3 separate regions of the Homo sapiens genome follow, and regions 1 and 2 are each linked to region 3. Evidence: promoter capture Hi-C in human tissues and cell types (Jung and others, 2019). All regions are on one chromosome and are shown on one strand. The core of a region is centred on a gene start or on the middle of the fragment in contact, and the rest is flanking DNA. Distances in the headings are between cores, read along the strand shown. Region 1 has its middle 59 kb from the start of TARS1. Region 2 overlaps TARS1 (threonyl-tRNA synthetase 1). Region 3 holds the start of C1QTNF3 (C1q and TNF related 3).

The links. Contacts are between HindIII fragments. The study calls those that stand out against the background at their distance.
Region 1: a contact is called between a fragment that was not itself captured here and the fragment with the promoter of C1QTNF3 in region 3, in 1 of the 25 tissues and cell types used here (lymphoblastoid cells).
Region 2: a fragment that was not itself captured here is called in contact with the fragment with the promoter of C1QTNF3 in region 3 in 2 of the 25 tissues and cell types used here (dorsolateral prefrontal cortex and hippocampus).

Annotation. Positions count from the first base shown.
Region 1 is chr5:33,497,953-33,501,304 of GRCh38, forward strand. No RefSeq gene overlaps it. Among named protein-coding and RNA genes, the nearest start is that of TARS1, 59 kb to the left of the region's middle. The HindIII fragment of the contact is 3,492 bases long and covers 145-3,352 here.
Region 2 is chr5:33,447,454-33,451,206 of GRCh38, forward strand. It overlaps TARS1 (threonyl-tRNA synthetase 1), which reads left to right. Exons shown (of 19, transcript NM_152295.5): 3 at 1,088-1,278. Among named protein-coding and RNA genes, the nearest start is that of TARS1, 8.4 kb to the left of the region's middle. RefSeq lists enhancers at 318-831, 832-1,345. The HindIII fragment of the contact is 7,416 bases long and covers 1-3,753 here.
Region 3 is chr5:34,041,211-34,044,954 of GRCh38, forward strand. It overlaps C1QTNF3 (C1q and TNF related 3), which reads right to left and starts at 2,003. Exons shown (of 6, transcript NM_181435.6): 1 at 1,613-2,003. The coding sequence starts at 1,915. All of the region lies in intron 1 of C1QTNF3-AMACR (C1QTNF3-AMACR readthrough (NMD candidate)), which reads right to left. The HindIII fragment of the contact is 5,092 bases long and covers 1-3,744 here.

The DNA of each region.
Region 1 (3,352 bases), core at 641-3,140, 540 kb before region 3:
AGTGGCAATCATGGCTCACTGAAGTTTCCATCACCCAGGCCCAAGCAATCCTCCCACCTCAGCCTCCTGAGTAACTAGGACTACAGGTGTGCACCACCACATCTGGTTAATTTTTAAATTTTTGTAGAGACAGGGTCTTTTTATGTTGCCCAGGTGGTTCTCCAACTCATGGCCTCAAGGGATCTCCCGGCCTCAGCCTCCTAAAGTGCTGGGATTACAGGCATGAGCCACTGTGCTTGGCTCAGTTCTAGTCTTTTAAAGGGTGGGGGCTGGGCAGCAGTGGCTCATGTCTGTAATCCCAGCACTTTGGGAGGCCGAGTTGGGTGGATCACCTGAGGTCAGGAGTTTGAGACCAGCCTGGCCATCATAGTGAAACCCCATCTCTACTAAAAATACAAAAAATTAGCTGGATGTGGTGGTGCATGCCTGTAGTCTCAGCTACTTGGGAGGCTGAGGCAGGAGAATCGCTTGAACCTGGGAGGCAGAGGTTGCAGTGAGCCGAGATTGTGCCACCACACTCCAGCTTGGGTGACAGAGTGAGACTCTGTCTCAAATAAATAAATAAATAAATGGTGGGGAAATGTGGGAAGATAGTAAAATCTGTTCCCAGATTCCTCTGGTGCCTGCTGGTACCTGCTCTGGGCTGATGAGCCAGAGCTGTCTCCAGTAAGGAAGAGTTGATGTCCTGCCATTGGGCAAACAGAGGCTGGGGCAGAGCATTTCCCTAAGTTCATTCAGTGTGTTTAACTTAACAATCCTCAGTATTTTGGGGGAAATAATTTGGCTTCCTTCACATTCACCAGAATTTAAATAGCTCCATGCAACAGATCATGGCGTGCAGGTGCCTGGCTGTGCAATAGGTAGCTAATTCATTCTGGCAGGTGTGTCAGGAAATTACCCCGTTCAGAATCCACTGTTCCACAGGAACATTGCTGGACTTTTTCTACAGCTGAGTGGCAAAATGGATGATAACTGCTCCGAAAATATTCCAGTTGGAAAATAACCTTGAATTATCGATTATTTCATTACTTTCAACAGCTAAGCAGAGGAAAATGACATTTAGTCCAGATTGTCTTAGGGATATGTTATTCATTTACTTTTTGTTGAATTGTAAGATCTGTATATTACATTAATTATAATAAAGCTATATATTTATGTGACATTAATTTAGTCCCCTCCTACTCATTATTAATTTATTTTTTAGACAGTGTGAGGATCAGATTTGCTGTAAAACCATTAAGTTTATTGATTAAAATGACCTACAGCGTGTCCTATATAAGGCACCACATGATGAGTTTATTTTAAACTCATTCTAAAAAATTGATTTCCTTATTTCCCATTCCAAGGGTTATGCAACACATTGTATTACTCTTTTCTAGATTGGCACAGATAGAATTGACATCACTCACATTTACTATATTAGCCTTTTGGGGTAGAGTATACACTTCCTCCTCCTTTTTATGACTTTAGTATTCCATTTCTATCCCAATAAAGGTATTATATATGTATCTTTTGTTGGTATCTATTATTTTGAGAGAATAAGTGTTTAAAAGTGAAACTACTGAGTCAAAGGGCATACACATTTTGAACATTCTTTGATATATAGGGCCCCACTGCTTTTCTGAAATACGGTACTAATTGATAATTCTATCATCACTGTTTGTGAATTCTTATTCTTTGGTATTTTGGCCATTCTAACACAACGTTCCTGTGTTAGAATTTTATAAACATTAGCAAATTTTGTCGATAAAACAGTGTATTGTTTTTAATTTGGATTTTTTAATGTTTATAGGCTAGTTTGAGGCCATAACTACTAGTTCCTGTCCTTTTCTCACGTTAAGAAAAGCATTTTGTCTCATTACTTTATATAAGCTTTTTATATTGTAAAATATTCATTCTTTGTTATGCAACAAAATGACAGATAAAGCCCTAGCCCAAATTTCTAGCCCTAGTCCAATTACACATTGTATTCTCAGATAACAATGCAATTTAGATAGAAAATCAAACAAACAAACAAAAAGCCATATATTTGCAAGTTTGAAACACATTTTTAGGGGCCAGTCATGGTGGCTCACAGCACCCCCTCTCTATAAAAATAAAATATTAGCTGTGCAAGTGCACACTTGTAGTCCCAGCTATTCTGGAGGCTGAAGCAGGAGGATCACTTGAGCCCTAGAGTTTGAGGTAACAGTGAGCTACGGTTGCACCATCGCATTTCAGCCTAGGCAACAGATATCCTGTCTCTAAAAAAAAAAAAAAAAAAAAAAAATTAAAAAACCCATTTTTTATTTTAAAAAAGTTTGATTTTTAATTGACAAATAATAATTGTGTGTATTTATGGTGTACAATCTGATATACATCATAAATATATACTTCTTGGAAGGAAGTATCCACAGTAGGTACCTAAGTAAGGCAAGACAGAGGTCAGGTCCAGGAAGGCCAGTTCTGAGAGTGCAGAGCAGGGAGTCCATGTGGGATGGAGGTTCTGTGGGTCAAGGCAGCAAGTCCACATCAGTGAGGTCAAATCCTGGCACCAGAAATCCAGGACAGTTGAAAGACAAAAAGCTGGGGCCCCAGGCCAACAGGAAACAAGAAACTGGAAACCAGTGCCAGAATGATCAAATCAAGGTAATTAGCACATCCATCACTTCAAGTATTTATCATTTCTTTGTGATGAGTCCTTAAAATCCTCTTTTTGCTATTTGAAATACATAATATATTATAATTAACCATTGGCCTTTCAGCTGCAGGCTTATTTTTATTCTTCATAGTCCCCTATAAACCCCAGCAGTATTTCAGAATGCTATTCTGGATCCACCCCAGATTATTTAAGTCAGGATCTTAAAGCATGGGACCCAGAAATCTGCACTTTTGAAAGGGCCCCAGATGATTCTGGTTTATTGGTAGGATTGAAAACCACTGGGTTACTCTAATTTCTGGAATGATTATTCTCTATCTACCTGTTTCCAATTTTCACTAATCACTTTCTTATTAATTTCCTGTAAGCTGGATGCTGAGTCCTCTGCTTTTCTAAAACCAATAACTTTCTTTGGATCCAATTAAACATGATTCACTCCTGAGAGTAGACGGTAGATCCAGAAGTTGGGTTTTATTCCCCGGACATATTTTTTGTGTTAATTGACAAGTTTCGTATTTGTTTCTTTCAAAGTTTCATGTTTTAAATGTATGCTATTTATTGCTACATTGCAAACTACCCCAAAACTTGGTGGTTGAAAACAGCGAAACCCAGATCCTTGTTAGTGGGATGCTGCCACGTGGGCAGGACTGGGTAGGGCATGCTGGTCTCTGTTCCACATGGTGTTGGCTGGAACGCCTTGGCTGGGGCTAGATA
Region 2 (3,753 bases), core at 353-2,852, 590 kb before region 3:
CCAGGGTGGTATCGAACTCCTGGCCTCAAGTGATCCATCTGCCTTGGCCTCCCTAAGTGCTGGGATTACAGGAATGAACCACCATGCCCTGCCCCAGTCAGTTTCTTAAGGATTAGATATTCCCTTGTACTCCTTTCAAATTGTGGTATGTTGATATATATGGAGACATATGTATGGAGACGTTGGTAGCATTATCAACATTGAATAAATGTTAAAATCTGTATTGCAGTAAGTCATTTTATATCTGATAGATTGAAATTCATTTGAAGATAGAAAGTCATGGCAAAATTAAGCAATCTCCTCTTCACTTTTGTATGAAGTGTTAATGTTCATGTAATTTGAAGATGATGAATGCTGTAGATGTTAGTTTGACTGTTTTGTTACCACAGATTCACTGCCTTTTTGAAATGTTCCATAGATTATAGAGTGACAGTAGAAGAAGTCAGCTCTCTGATTGCTGTCTCTTTTTCTTTCTTTGCCAAACCTCTAGAAACCTAAGTGGGTGTTTTATATAGAATATTTTTGTTAATTTTATCTGCTATAGAAAGTAGTAGTGTGTTGTTTTATATAGTTGCTAATTACATACTCCAAGCTGATCATGGCATCTTTGAATTCAGTAAATACTTTCCTTGAAGGGGAGACCTTAAGTCAAAGAAATTTGTGATTGGTTGTGAGTGGACATATAGGCTGACCCGCTGCACAGACCATCACCTGGACATGAATGAAACAAAATAGAAAAGCCAGTTTATTGTTTTTATTTCCAGTATTGTTTATAGCTCTATTTGTAAAATAATTTAGTTAGAAAAGATCCTAAGAAGACATCTTAAAAGAGAAAAGACCACTTGCTGTAAATAGTAGCAAAATGGTAATTGTCGATTCAGCATAAGAATAGGGCATTTAATTCCTTCTTTTACCTTCATTTAGAACCAAATTGAGGTAATGCCGGGTGATTTTGGCAGTGTTTATTTACCACATTGAATCAATAGTCCTGGGTTTCTGTATTGTTTTTATTATTTCTTTCCCATTTCTAAATAGGAAAGCAATATTTACTGATCATTTATTTCCTGATTTGTTTGTTGTCTTGCAGTTGAATCCTTGGCCTGAATATATTTACACACGTCTTGAGATGTATAATATACTAAAAGCAGAACATGATTCCATTCTGGCAGAAAAGGCAGAAAAAGATAGCAAGCCAATTAAAGTCACTTTGCCTGATGGTAAACAGGTTGATGCGGAATCTTGGAAAACTACACCATATCAAATTGCCTGTGGAATTAGGTATAAGCTACACCCATCATGACCTTCCATAGTTTGTGGTCTAACTAAACTTCCTTTTATTATCTTGCCATGTTTTATTCTTATAATATTTTTATGTTACCATTCAGTGTTTTTAATCTGTTTAATTTTGCCTACTTGAGATTTTTTAAAAATCAAAATGATACAGAGCTTTGTAGTCAAAATTCAAAGTTAATTTCTGAAAGAGTTTACTTTGGTCTTATCTTTTGGGGCATTGTATATTTTTAGTCTTACTATGATTATAAATGTTACAAAACCGACTAGACAGTGTTTACCTATTTCGACTTAAATGTCTTGGTTTTGAAGTTAAAAATGAAGCTACATAATCTCACATGGAAAGGTTAAGAAACTTCATATAACACATGAAAAAAATGTACTATTTTTATAAATTCAATGAAAGACTATTCCTAGTCTTAAAACTTTTATTGGGGTGGGAAGAAGTTATTTCAATTAACTGAGAATTAGATGCATATTTTGTAATAGGGGAGAGGCTTTCTTAATCTGATATGATTGGGATCAATAATTGGTCAGTTTATCAAAATAAGAGTTGGTAAAACATATATATGTGTATATATATACGCGTATATATACACGTGTATATATATATATCTTAAACTGGGTATTGGGAAACTCTAGTCATAATCTGTTTGTGTATGTCCTGAAAGCGAAAAATAAAAATGATTCTTTTTTTCTTTCTTTTTTTTTTTTTTTTTTTTTTTTTGAGACAGAGTCTTGCTCTGTTGCCCAGGAGGCTAGAGTGCAGTGGCGCGATCTTGGCTCACTGCAAGCTCCACCTCCCAGGTTCACGCCATTCTCCTGCCTCAGCCTCCCGAGTAGCTGGGACTACAGGTGCCCGCCACCACGCCCGGCTAATTTTTTGTATTTTTAGTAGAGACGGGGTTTCACCGTGCTAGCCAGGATGGTCTCGATCTCCTGACCTTGTGATCCGTCCGCCTCGGCCTCCCAAAGTGCTGGGATTACAGGCGTGACCCACCGCGCCCAGCCAAAAATGATTCTTAAATTTTTAAATAGTTGGAAAAAATAAAACAACTAAGAATATACAACAGAGACCATGTTTGGCCTGCAAAGTGTAAAATATTTGTGTGGCCTTTTACAGAAAAAGCTTGCCAATCTTGGTCTTAAACACTTCAACTTAAAATATGTGAATATGTATGTATTCACTAACTTTATATACATACATAAAACAGTGAATATATATATGTATGGCAAGGTTTGGGGGATAGCGAGTGCTAATTAGAGTTCTTACATTATCTTAACACATACGAGAAGTAGTCTGAGCACAGAATCCTTGCAGATTTTCATGTAGTTGTAGAGTTACACCTAACTTGACAGTGTTTTTGTGTGTGTGACTTGGATTTATCAAGCCTTCTCAAACATTCAACTTGGTTTTCATAGAATCCATAATTCCCTTATTGTGTTATTTTATAATTATATATTTTTGAAGTTTATTTATAAGTGTTATGTATTGAATTGAACCATTTGGAATCACCATATGAATTGTCATGTGGTTGATTATCATCAATTTTGTATTGTTGAACCAAACACGTAAAAGAACAAGCACAAAAACAGTTTGGGGAACCAACGTGGCTGATTCTTGGTAAGCGTATTATACAACTAGTAGAAGCAGAACCAGTTAGGCCTATGAGCCATGAGCATCTACTGTACCACAGACATTAGTTAGTACTTTTTACAAAGTGAATGGAGTGTTTCCATTCATTTGACAAGTGCTTCTACCTACAAGTTCTTCTACCTTACTCCAAAGGAAGTAAAAAGTTGTAATACCATGCAAGTTTCTATGTGAGAGCATAGAGAACTGGATAGACCTTTACGTATCAGTTCAACCTTTCATTTTAGAGATAATTTTGAAGGTCAGGTTGATTAATAGATTCCTCTGTTGTCACACAATGAGATTGTAGCCGTGTCATTAAAATTTAGGCTTCTGTTAGTTTGGGAACTTTTTCCTCTACCTTCTACAATGTTGATCTAGATTACATTGTAATTTATCAAGTCTTCAGTTGAAAAATATTCTTCAAGAACTATAAAATTCTAAGTTGAATTACATAGCTGGGCGTGTTGGCTCACAGCTGTAATCCCAGCACTTTGAGAGGCCAAGGCAGGCAGATCACCTGAGGTCAGGAGTTCAAGACCAGCCTGGCCAACATGGCGAAACCCTGTCTCTACTAAAAATACAAAAATTAGCCAGTCATGGTGGCGCACACCTGTAGTCCCAACTACTTGGAGGCTGAGGTGGGAGGATAGCTTGAACTCGGGAGGTGGAGGTTGCAGTGAGCCAAGATTGAGCCACTGCACTCCAGCCTTGGTGACAGAGCGAGAGTCCGTCTCCAGGGAAAAAAATAAAAGGTTGAATTACATAAAACATTGATGGGCTTTAGCTCTGGAGTTAAGTCACTGATCTGCACTGAGAATACTTTATGA
Region 3 (3,744 bases), core at 753-3,252:
TAGCCGTTGGTAGAGGAGTTGTAGTGAAAACTTCCAGAATGTCAGTAACTCTAAATATCCTCAATATCTCCTGTTGGTGGTTTGTTTGAAAATACTTCAGGAACCTAGAAGGTAGAGTGAAGGAGAAATGTGATTTGAATTTCAGTGGCCTGCTGGGTGTTGGTTGTCAGGACATAATGACCAAAGACAACCTTTAACTTCCTTCTGCTTCCTCTGGGGGAATCACACTGTCATGGCCAGGAAAGATACCATCTGTTGGCCAAGAAGGATACCATGTGTGAAATGGAAAGTCCAGATCAAGTCTTGGACACAAGTGAAAATATCTTCACCACAAAACAAAAACAAACAAAAACCCACACACAAATTAGTGCTAATCATTACCCTTTAGCCAAAAGATTATCAGATGAATAGACAATCTCTAAAAGTGGTTTTCAAAAGATAGGATCATATTTAGAGATTATCATTTCTTCCGTGGCTCCTTAAAGAAGCAATTTTCTCTGGATGCATCCCCCACAGAATGGTTTGGGCAACTGCCTTGTGTGGTCAAGTTAGAAGTTCTGGGTTAGTTTCAAATCTGCAATTGATTCTGTGTGTGATCTTGGTCTGACCATATAACCAAACAACCAACCCAAACTTCTGAATCCATGGTAGGAAGGATTTAGATTTCAATTACAAGAAATTCTTCAGGTCCTATTTAATGCATTAAAGTAATCAAATCTTGTAGTAAAAACCTGTATGTTCAAATATCATATAACTCAAAGTAACTCTTCTTGCCCCCTCTGACAGTTTTCAGCATACTAGATGTCTAGAGGGTAATTCAAAATATGTCTCTTCCTGTACTTAATATTTTAAATTACATTGAGTTTCACCAATTTGCAATTCACTATACTGAAATCTTAACTCACTCTCATACTACCAAGAGTTAAAGATATTTCCTTAGAGCTGAATTTATAACCTGAGAAATAGATCAAGTCCTCTGTGATTATCAGGCATCAAATCATGCTATAAGGTATGCATTTCAAACAGTTTATTTTTTATTTAACTCTTTAATTCTTTTTAAAACAGGCTGAACAGAGAGGCTTAACAATCTAGAATGCTATAAATCAAATAAACAAGACTGCCATGAAATGTCACAGTATACTCACAAATCAAAGTAAAAAAACTTTGATTGCTTTTGACAAACTCAAAGGGCAGCTTCTCCCTGCCGGAAGGGATGAAGAAAGCCCAATTCTCTTAAGAACAACAAATGATTGTCTACAGTGACCGATCTGTCTGCATGGGTCAGCACTCCTTTCCGGACCAACAGAGCAAGAAGGAAATCAAGTCCCAGCATAGCAGGAAGCTGGCTGGCCAGGTTCCCCTTTCTGATGGGGTGATGCTACGGCCACTATCCCATCACATCATTGCTGCCTCTGCTGATTTTCTAACAGAGACCGACAGTCTCTCTTGTACCCAAGAGCAATCCAGAAAGAGATTCACAAGCAGCTTAGCGAACTTCTCGAAAGCATTCATTGATTCTAAGAATCTTAGCCAAAAAAAGAACAACAACAAAACAACAACAACAACACTCATTAAGCTTTCACAAAAATCCTTAGAAGAGAATTCTGAGTACCTGGCCCCAGAATGTGGTGATCTGGGCTAGGTCATCTACCTCGGGGTGCGGTAGCTCATCTGGTCTCAGGGATTTTAGGTCTGTAGAAGTGTTATTATCCACAGTCCCAGTTTTAGGATGGCTCCGCTCTCTCACTTTCTCCCTCCTGGAGCCGCTACGGCCAGTCTGCTGGTGGCTTTGCACTATTCTTGCCACCACTTTATTAGTTCTTCCGCTCACCTCCATGTATTCATCTTGACACAGGCAAAAAGGGAGGAAAAACAAAGCCAGCAGTTGCCAATAGATGAGCTGCCTCCAAAGCATGATTCTCAACAGAGCCTCAGAGTCTCCCTGAGAAGACAGCAGAGCTCCAGGAGCGTGGTCTCCTCGGGCAGATGCCAGGACTGGAGCTGAGAGCTGCAGCGGCGGAGTGGTTTTATACTTTGGTGTGTAATAAATAAGGCTGTAGGCATGCCAGAGTGACAGCAGCCCTCCTCCCCAGGCAGAACAGCCCCCATTCATCATTTTCCCACACCACAAGCAAGAACGATTTGTGTGCACAGTTCCCAGTTGGCGAAATTCATAAATGTCACACCTTGGCACGTTTCTGTTGAAGTGTGAAGAAAACATACACAACCAGCTGGGAACAGAGAGCATGTGTCCAGCAGTTTGCTTTTGTGATTAGACATGGAAAGGCTGTGTATTTGCAGTCTAAAAAGCCTTTTGGAAAAATCTACCCTTGTGCTTGCCAGGAAATTCAGGCTTAACTGCATCAGTTTTGTCTGAAATAGCAGTGGGAACCCATTCAGGGCTTTCACGACAGCTCTTGGTTTCTAGCTGTACTGTTAGTATTTCCCCACTTTGGCCCACTTAAGGTAACTCATTTCCCCTTCCGGATACCAGTGGCAGAAGGCAGTTGGTTGCCTACAAAACACTGAGCAGGATTCAGGTGCAGTGTCTCTGGGTTTAGCAAAGGTATTTCGCCACCCTCAGCTTTACTTCTTTTCCCCATGACTTCCCAAAAGCCAAAATTAAATCAAAGTTAACTAAGTCACTTATTGTCAGATGAAGATACAACACCCTGCTTTGTGTTAAGAGAAGGCTGTCTCTGGCTCCTCTTTCTTTTGACATATTCTTGATTAAAATAGAAACGGGGCCGGGCACAGTGGCTCATGCCTGTAATCCCAGCACCTTGAGAGCCCAAGACAGGTAGATCCCTTGAGCCCAGAAATTCGAGGCCAGCCTGGGCAACTTAGTGAGACCCTGTCTCTACTTAAAAAATAAATAAATAACAAAACTGAAGAAGTGGAAAGCACCAAACACGTTATTTCAAACACAGCGTATCCAGATTAAGAGGATTCTCATGTCTTTGCTTTAGTTGCTATACTTTTATTAATTCAGCCAAAAAGAAAATGGACATTCCTAATTGCTTCAGGATAATAAATTAAGAGAATTTAAACAGTTTTGTCATCAAAAATTGCTTCTATTTACATATGATTTTATTTATATTACTCATTCACTCGCTTAAGAAAATGTTACTGGCCTTCTCTCATGAAAACTGGAGAGACCCAGGACCGTAAATAGCATGGGTGGCAAGCGTCTGATGAGAAGGGGGCGAGGAGGCACTGTGGGAAACTGAGGCTTGGAGAAGCTCAGCCTGCTGATGAAGAGTCAGAGCAGCTGGGGAAAGGGGAGAGGAGAGAGAGCTGTTGACAGCTGCCCCCATTGCTCAGCCAAGGGCCTGAGAACCAAGAGCCATCTCTGGAAGTGGCCAGAACTGTCAAAACTAGCCTGGCCCCTCCTGCAGCTACCAGAACAGCCGCTTCCAGAGTCCACACTTATACATGGAAAGGGTTTGGTGCTGGGGACGGAGGGAGAGAGTTACTCTGTGAACTAAAAGCTCTCCAGGCCACAGTTCAGGGGCCTTGGGAGTCATGTTCAGTCCAAGCAGTCAGTTCCCACCTAGTAGGGCATAAAAATTCAGCCATCTCTGTGCTACAAGTCTACCCTTGAGCATCTAAACCTTCCTCACTGGAGGATTCCTTGAGTTCTGTCATGTCCACCATTAAAAGGTAGATGTCCCTGGGAAGGGAAGTGTGTCAAACTGTTATTCTTAGTAACTGAGGATTTTCTTCCCAGACCTGGAGCTGGAG